Linked DNA regions of Homo sapiens: region 2 is linked to region 1. The links are contacts of gene promoters, found by promoter capture Hi-C in blood cells and fetal thymus (Javierre and others, 2016). All regions are on one chromosome and are shown on one strand. The core of a region is centred on a gene start or on the middle of the fragment in contact, and the rest is flanking DNA. Distances in the headings are between cores, read along the strand shown.

Region 1 (4,271 bases), core at 579-3,078:
AAAGTGAATGTGGAATGAGCCTGAAGTGCTTATGATAACTTTTTATAAATTCTGCTAGTCTTAAACTGATTTTCCTTTTACTAAGGGTACTTACAAAGAGAAAGAAACAAGGATAATTTCTGTATCTTTTACACCTCTTTTACTTAAGTTCTATTTTATAAAAGCTCCTCAGAATACTTGACCTGAGCTTCTCATCCAAACTGCCATATTAGTCACACTCTATGCATCATACCTACCATTCTTTAATGCATTGTATTCAAATTCACCAGGTCCTTCTTTAAACACACAGAAAGCAAAGATTAATGGAAGGTATCTGCACTTGGTTGGAAGGAAGCTACTAAGGGAGACACACAAGTAAATAGTTGAACTGTGTGTTCGCAGACAGGAAGGAACACTTTACCCCTCAAAGTGCAAGAACAGTTGCAGGAAGGCTTCCTTGATGGGTGATCCTTGCATGAATCTTGAAGGGGAAATATGTAGTTTACCAGGCAGACAAGCAAAGGAAGACTTTCCAGGACTGTCAGGTACAGAAGCACAAGCATAACAAAAGTATATGAAATCTGGGGAACTTCAGGTAGTAGTCCAACGTGGCTTATGGGCAGGCTATGTGTGGTGATAAGAGATAATTTTCAAAAAAGAGAAAATAATGGCTGTCATGGATGAACATGTATTAAAGATTATATTCTCCCATCAGGCAGATTTTATAAACATTGGTTCAAAGGGTAAGTCCAAACAACAAACATTCTAGACCAGGAATGAAGTGAATGTGGAAATGGAGGCAAAACTAGCTTCTTCCACAGTGAAAATGGGAAGTCAATTAAACTTCTATTGGACAGAATTTGGATTTCTATAGACCGTTATTTTGTGTTGCTATCGCTTATCTATAATTTACAGAGTTGTAAAATAACTCCCATAGAATCAGAATCAGATAATTCAGAAGGGTGACTTCTATGTAGTTTTCCATCAAAGCACAACTTTTACCCTACAGTGGCAGTAAGAGAAAACTAGTTAATTTTTCAGAGGCCACATCAGATAGGGTCACAGATACCACACCAGAGTTTGGATTTCTGTTAGTTTTAGTCTTTGAGCAAAAGAAGTTCATGAAGGGTCAAACTGAGAAGTGCTAGGATCTCCTGTCATCGGAGAGGCATGGCCTGGCAAGGAGGTGGACGTTTGACTGGAATAGCTCAAGGATGGATTCAGAGGCTTGATGCAGTAGGTCAGTCAAGAAAGTCTGAGGGCCAGAGCCACGGTAATGGCAAACGGGAGAGTGGCTGACAAACAAAATACAGTCAAGTAGATCTAGTGAAAGTGGATGTGAGGGATGAAGTAGAAAGAAGGTTGTCTCTGATGGTTTCTAGGTTTCTGGCTTAAACAATTAGGCGCATGGTGGCGCATCCACCTATGTGAAAGGAGCAAGCTTGTGAGGAGCGATGAGCTGGTTTGCCCATCTGAGTGTGAGGTGCCTGTGGAATATGGAATATCCGGGTGAATATATCAGGAAGACAGTTAGACAGGGGCTTCTAGGAGACTTGGTGTGGAGTTACAAGCCACTGACAGTGGCCTTTGCGAGCAGCCAAGGCGCGAAGAGCAGCAGCTGGGAGAATGAGCCCTGAACGGTTCCAGGAAGCTCAGCCTAGTGGAAGGGCCAACGGAGGCCTGTTATGTGATGAGCCCCACTACAGTCCCTCGCAATGCAATCGGGCGCGGCCACTGCCTCCCTCGGAGCTCCGCGAGAGGCCCTCCAAAAAGACGCTGGCACGGAACTCGCGGCTCTCCTGCCCGTTGGATCCCGAAGCACCAGTCGGGGCCCCAGACACGAGGCCCCACTTCCGCTTACGCGCCCCACTTCCGCTTCCGGCCCCGGGCTGTGGTGACTGGCGGTGTGGGGTGGGTCAGAGGGCAGTAGGTACCTCCAGGCGGGAGCAGCGTTTGCACCGCGGTGGGTTCCTGCGAGCTGGTGCAGAGGGGCCCCAGCGGGCCGGCCCCGGGGCACATGCGACGACCTCCACCCCTGGGCCCCACGACGGCCTCAGGGCCTGAAGGCAATGTGCGAAACCTGCAGAAGCGGCAGGCGCCAGGGCCAGGCGCGGCGGGAGGCTGTGGCCCTGAGGCCGGGGGGTGCCGGGAAAATAAGCAAAAGAGGAGAATGGTGGCCCGGGCCACCCCTGGGAGAGGCGAGGTGGAAAGTGATAAGTCGGTTGCAGCATCAGGGGCTGGAAAGGCCGCAAGGCGTCAGGTGGAGGGGCGCAGGGGCCCGGTGAGCCCGTCAGACTCGTCAGACCCGCGAGGCCTAGAAGCAGCAAAGGAGGCTGAACTCCCCTTGCAAACGGAAAGACACAGTAAGAAAGCATCCACGATCACTTACCTTTAGCCCTTGTACCTCAGCGTGCTCCATCTTTGTTTTACCACTAGTCTTTAACTTGAACCTGCATGGTTATTTCTGATGCACATAGTTGACCAGGAGATGGGAAAAATGGATTTCCTTAAAAGGGGTGTTCCCTGTTAGGAATCCTTGGTCAGAATTATGATAGGAGGAATTCCTACTTGTGGTCCATTTTGGCTAGTATGAGATGACGATGTTATAAGGGTTATTCAGTTGCCTTAGAATTTATACAGGTTTATATGTAATTCCTTAACAGAAATTAAGGCTTTCATTTAAAAACAAATGTGTATTTACATACAGCTGTTCAGGGAAATAAAAATGATAGCCTCACAATTTTTAATTTCAATGATAATTGCATTTTCCTCCTCAATATAAAATCTTTTCTGATATATTTTGTTGTTTTGATCAGCCAAGGAAAAAAGAAAAGTTACTGAAGCCTCAAGTGATGATCCACAGCCAGGGCTTGACTTGGTAAGAAAGGAATCATTAACCAGTTCGGAATCTTTCCAAACAGTGGAATGCTTGCAGTCTTTGGGTAAGGAAAGTATAATAGAAGGTATTAAAAGAAGAATTCGAAATAAAAAACTTAAAAGCTTAGAAAACCCACCTCTCAAAATAACCGAAAATGAGGCTACACAAAATATTAAGGTTGAATTCCAAGATGAACTGTACAAGAATACTCCAAAATATTCTTGTAATATCTTGTCACCTGAAGTAGAAAATAATTCCGTTTTAAAATTACGTGATTGCAATTGTTTCCCCCATTCCAAGGGTTGTAATGATGAAAACAACCTGCCATATAAACCTGATGGTGGATGTATGCATGTAGCAGAAAATTTCTCAAAGAAAGAAAACCTTAGGAGTCTTGCAGAGAAGAGTGACACAAATAGTATTCCTCAGCTCTTACAAACAGAAGAAAATGTAATGGGAGTAAATAAGTTACTACCAGAAGAGAGTGATTTATACCAAAGTAAAACCAATGGCTTGCTTTCCTGCCTTCAACATGAAAAAAATAAATATTCAATAGAGGAGAGCAGTGTTGGGCGAAAACCCAGGAAAAGGATGAAGTTGTCTGAAAAAGCAGATGAAACAGTTACTGAGATGAACTTCTCTAATGAGTATAACAAGTCTGAGTTGATGTTGCAAGAAAATCAAATGATTGCTGATGGTAAAGAAGCAGAGACTAAAAGTCCTTTAAATGTTTTGAGAAAAGTAAGCCATAATACAGTCTCTTTGATGGATCATTTATTAAGTGTCCCAGAAACAGTAGAAAAAGAAACAAGTTCTGAACATCATGTAAATGCTGTGTTTCAGAAAACCATTGAACCACTTTTGAAAGAAGAAACAGAGAATGCTTCAGAGCCGTTAGGTTATGAAAGCATGGCATCGAAAGAGGATTTTAAATCGATGAAAAGCTTCATAGGGAAATCACCTAATGAGTACCATATTGAAAGGAGATCTTCACGGGAAGACTTAAGAAGTGCATCTGAAGAATTGAAGTTAAGCTGTCAGAGAACAATACCTATGACTGGTAAAAGAACTTGGCCCTATTATTCATGTGCTAGAATATCTGCCTGGTGTTGGAAAAAGGCTTCCTTGCCAGAATCAAGTTACTTTCTTCGTGGGTCTCAGGAAAGTTGTAGGCAAGTTGATGTCCCTAAACACCAAACAAACCAGACCCATTTAACTGACTCCAAATTATTATTACAAAGTTCCTTAACAGAAACAAACACTGAATCTTCAAGTAAAGAAAAATTAGATTCTAATTCTAATTGTTTGTCTTCAGTTTCTGCAGTAGAACCTACTTTAATGGTTATAAAGGAACCTATAATCAAGGATGATAAAAAGATAAAATCAGAGGAACTGAGCAGAAGAGGGTCAGAGG
Region 2 (4,271 bases), core at 1,153-3,652, 690 kb before region 1:
AAAGACACAAACCCACAGATCTAAGAAGCTGAGCATGCCCCAAATGGAATAAACTCCCAAAAAGCTACACTAAGGCCCATTATGATTAAACTTTCAAAAATTAAAGATACAGGGAAAAAAATCTTAAAAGCAGCCAGAGAAAAAAGGATCCATTAACTACAGGCGAACACCAATTGGAATGATATATTTCTCTTCTGAGACCATTGAGACTAGAAGGAAATACCAAAATGTTTTTCATATGCTGAAAGAAAAAGACTATCATCCATGAATTCTATGTCCAGCAAAACTATACTTAAGAATGAAAGAGAAAAAAAGTTTTCAGATGAAGAAAAAATTAAGAGAATTTGTTGCTAGCAGACTGACCCTTTAAAAATTGGCTAACAAAAGTTATTACAACAGAAAGGAAAATGCATTTGTTTCTCAGGGTTGCCAGAACAAAGTTATCACAAACTATTATAGATGGCTTAAAACAGCAGGACTGTATTTTCTCATAGTCTGGAGGCTAGAAGTCCAAAATCAAGATGTTGGCAGGGCTATGATCCCCCTGAAACCTGCAGGGAGCCTTCTTTGATGCTTCCTGGCTTCTTCCTAGCCTTCCTTGATGCTTCTTACTTTGCCAGTTTAGACAATGACAATTAAAACAGCTGTTTTTATACAATGTGAAGAGACAATAAATAAATAAATAAGAGGAGGCATAATGGTTAGAACCTAGAGGGTAACAGCCAAGTATCCCTAGAATGTGCAGATTAAGTGAATCGAGTGAGGATTAGACTAGCAAAACCATCCTGTTTAACACGAGACTAGCCACCTGCAGAACAGTATTTATAGGCCAGTAAGTCTCCCGAATTAAGTAAGAAGAACCAGGCCCTCAATATGTGATTAAGGTATCACTAAATACAAAAGAAAGCAGTAGGCTAATCAATGGTAATATATTGAGCCAGCCAGGAATCTAGAGAAAGTGAGGGCAAAAATCAAGATGTAGACTGTAATGAGCTCATCCAGCATTGCTCAGAAGCTAGCGATGGACACCAAGAGCTGGCTCATGAGAGAGCTCTGCTCTGTGTGGAGGTAGGGATGGTTTTCAGGTTTTCTGCGTATTTCAGGATATTACACCACTCCTGCTCTTGTTCTAAATTTACCAAGAAATCTTCTAATAACCAATCCACCTTCACTTTAACATCCACTGTTACGGTATTGGTAAAGTATCTTTTTATTGTAAATTAACCACCTGGCTTTCTGGTCAATCCCTTGTAAGTTTCATGAGTTTTAAGTTTCAGTCAGTCCCAAAAGCCTTTAATTAACTCTGAGTATACTGGCAAAGACAAATTTTTAGATCTGTGAAGTGAAGTGCCATATTCTAAATCAAGAAAGCACACTACAAGCCTAGCCAGCTGGTCTCTCCCTGTCAAAGGTAACTCTGTCTTGTTTTCTCACTTCCACAGGTCATAAATCAGCCTTGCAAATAGCTCTCCAAAATTCTATTCAACTTACAAAATTCAAAATAGACTACTTGTATCTGTCAGGGCCATTTTCTTTTCCCTCCCACTCACTGCTGTCTAAAATCATTCTCCAAAATGCATATTCCACATATAGCATCTATCATGAACACAGATTCCTACCAAATACAATAAGAGCCAAAAAGAGCAAAGCAGAATATATTTCTTTAGCCAACACTGGAAATGTGCAAGTTCATGATTTCCTTTCCTCTGGTCAGCCCTGAGTCCTAAGGCCTTAAGTATATGAAACACCATTCAGGATCCTCCTAAGTTCTGCTTTTATAGAGTTCCATAACTGTTTTGTTTTTAAAATATCTAAAAATGAAAGGTGGTTACAATATTCTTGACAACTATAATTACAAGCAACAAAAAAAATTCCTACAAATTATTCCATTTACATTTGGTTAGTGCTTAATTTCCAAGATGTTACAGGGATCCATATTCTGAAACATGATAAAAGAAAAACGTAAAAAGAGCACAGACAGCCTGCTTGGGCTTTGCATGTGAAATTATCTATCGTCCTACAAATTACATTTTGAAGTTTGAGAGTGTTTCACAATGAATTTCACACCTGTAGCAAATGAGACTTAAGTCATTATCAAAAAGTGTTTTTAGGATTTGCTTAAGAAAGTAGAACTGTCTTTTCTCTAAAATAGACTAAAAATACATATTAAATGTATGGAATTTGATTTTGAATAGGATTTTTTTTTTAAGGGACAGTGTCTCGCTCTGTTGCCCAGGCTGGAGTGCAATGGTGCCATCATAGCTCACTGTAACCTTGAACTCTAGGGCTCAGTCAATCCTCCTGCCTCAGCCTCCCAAATAGCTAGGACTACAAGAATGAACCAAATTACAGTACCAAATTACATCAGGTACCAAATTACCATCAGGTACCAAATTACATCAGGTAATTTTTAAATTTTTTGTGGAGACAGGGTCTTATGTTACCCAGGTCTTGAACTCCTGGCCTTATGTCATCCTTCTGCCTTGGCTTGGGTGCTGGGATTACAGACGTGAGCCATGGCACCTGATCCTCAAATAGGATTTACCTACTTAGCACTGGGCAGGCCAGCATAATAGTGGAAAAGTCACTTCCTGTTTGCATTGTGGTGACAGTTTTTCATACTTGGGCAATAACCATGAATACACAGCCTGAATCCTCATGTTTTCTATTACTTGAACTGTTTTTGCTTTCTTACCAGTAAATCCATATTGCTCAATTGTCAGTCATGGACAGCCCGAGACAGCACTGCTTTGGAATAGAGAAACGTAATATGGATACTGCTTAAAATAAGTTTAAATCTTTACTTACCTCCACTGCTACTACAATCAAAATGAGGTCTGCTTTTGATTCTGGAAAGACTGCATTCACTTGTGGTGACATTCCAATCAGCGCACAGTTAGTGACCACAGATATAACACTCATCGTTTCAAAAGCCAACTAAAAGAAAAAAGAATGGAAATTAAAAATTGCAATGACTGCTTCCATATTTCCTCATCCTTTTTCATGTTATCTAAAAATCAAGGAAAATGTCTTACCCTAGTTCTAAACATTCCAAGTACATTTTAAATTTTTTTCTCTGTCATGGTATGATTTTTTTAGCTGAAAAAAAAGCCATACTGTTAGGCAGTATTTTAGATACTTTTGGCATGAATATCCCAAAGCAGTATGTTCTATCTTCCTAATTGGAGGCAGCCCTGGACCTGAATTGGGAATACTGTTAAAGTTACTCTACTCACATCTAAGGGGAATCTAAAGTAGGGCTGCCAGGGAAAAATGTTTCACATTAAAAAACAGGTAAGATTTCAAACAGAACTTATGTTGTGAAACCATCCTTCTACTTTGACATCACACACCACATCTGACTCAGCTATAACCAGCTTTATAATCAAGGCACCAGTGATAAATGGTGATCCTTTTCTAGCATCATTTAGCAAATCAAATGTAGAACTTTAGAAAAATATAGATGCTAGGCCCCACTGAGACCTACTAGACAAACTGGTCCAGCATTCCCTGAAGGAGACTTTGGTGCATACTGCCAAGGATGGATGGAGAAATGTTGTGACCATTGCTCTTTTTTTCTTTAATACAAAGTATATGGTGATCACCACTTAATAATTTACCCATTAATTCCAAGAAACACAAGTACTATTAGAAACATTAATTTTAAAAGAAGCAAAACAAAAGATGACTGAATCCAAACTTAATATGAATACATTTTGTCCCATGGAGAACTTCTGCCATCTTACAATTTAGAAATCTTTGTGTAGTCTGATTATTTTTCCACAGTTTTCTTCATAAGAAATCTAAGACTGTCTTTACTTTAGTTTAAAATTTCTATTTATTTACTTTTGATTATATTCTCATGGCTTAAAAATAAAAAATTCTAAGTACATAGTGAAGAGTGTCTTTTTCCCTTGTCCCCTTTTCTTCCACTTCGCAGCTCCCATTCTCCCTAGAAGACAACCACTATTTGCAATTTCTTATGTATTCTTCCAGACAGTTTGTATGCAAAATAAGCATATTGAATATATACACTCTTTCCTACTCCCTTTTCAGCATACTACATACTGTCAGGCCCCTTGCTTTAGTCATTTAAAGTGTCTTGAGGGACTTTCTGTGTCAATACTAAAAGAGCTCCCTCATTCTTTGCCACACTGCTTCTGCATTTTATTACATGGACGTATCAGAATTTATGTAACCATTTTCTTATTGGTGGGCATTTAGTTGCTATTACAAACAGTGCTACAATTGGTGATCTTATAAGTACATCA

Evidence for each region. The method cuts DNA at HindIII sites, captures the fragments that hold promoters and counts their contacts. A CHiCAGO score of 5 or more calls a contact.
Region 2: a contact is called between a fragment that was not itself captured here and the fragment with the promoter of TOPAZ1 in region 1, in 3 of 17 cell types (activated CD4 T cells, total CD4 T cells and total CD8 T cells). The highest score is 7.4, in activated CD4 T cells.

What each region holds. Positions count from the first base shown.
Region 1 is chr3:44,240,058-44,244,328 of GRCh38, forward strand. TOPAZ1 (testis and ovary specific TOPAZ 1) reads left to right here and starts at 1,829. Exons shown (of 20, transcript NM_001145030.2): 1 at 1,829-2,342; 2 at 2,796-4,271. The coding sequence starts at 1,997. The HindIII fragment of the contact is 1,559 bases long and covers 1,419-2,977 here.
Region 2 is chr3:43,546,912-43,551,182 of GRCh38, forward strand. It overlaps ANO10 (anoctamin 10), which reads right to left. Exons shown (of 13, transcript NM_018075.5): 11 at 2,809-2,937. Among named protein-coding and RNA genes, the nearest start is that of ANO10, 73 kb to the right of the region's middle. The HindIII fragment of the contact is 9,659 bases long and covers 1-4,271 here.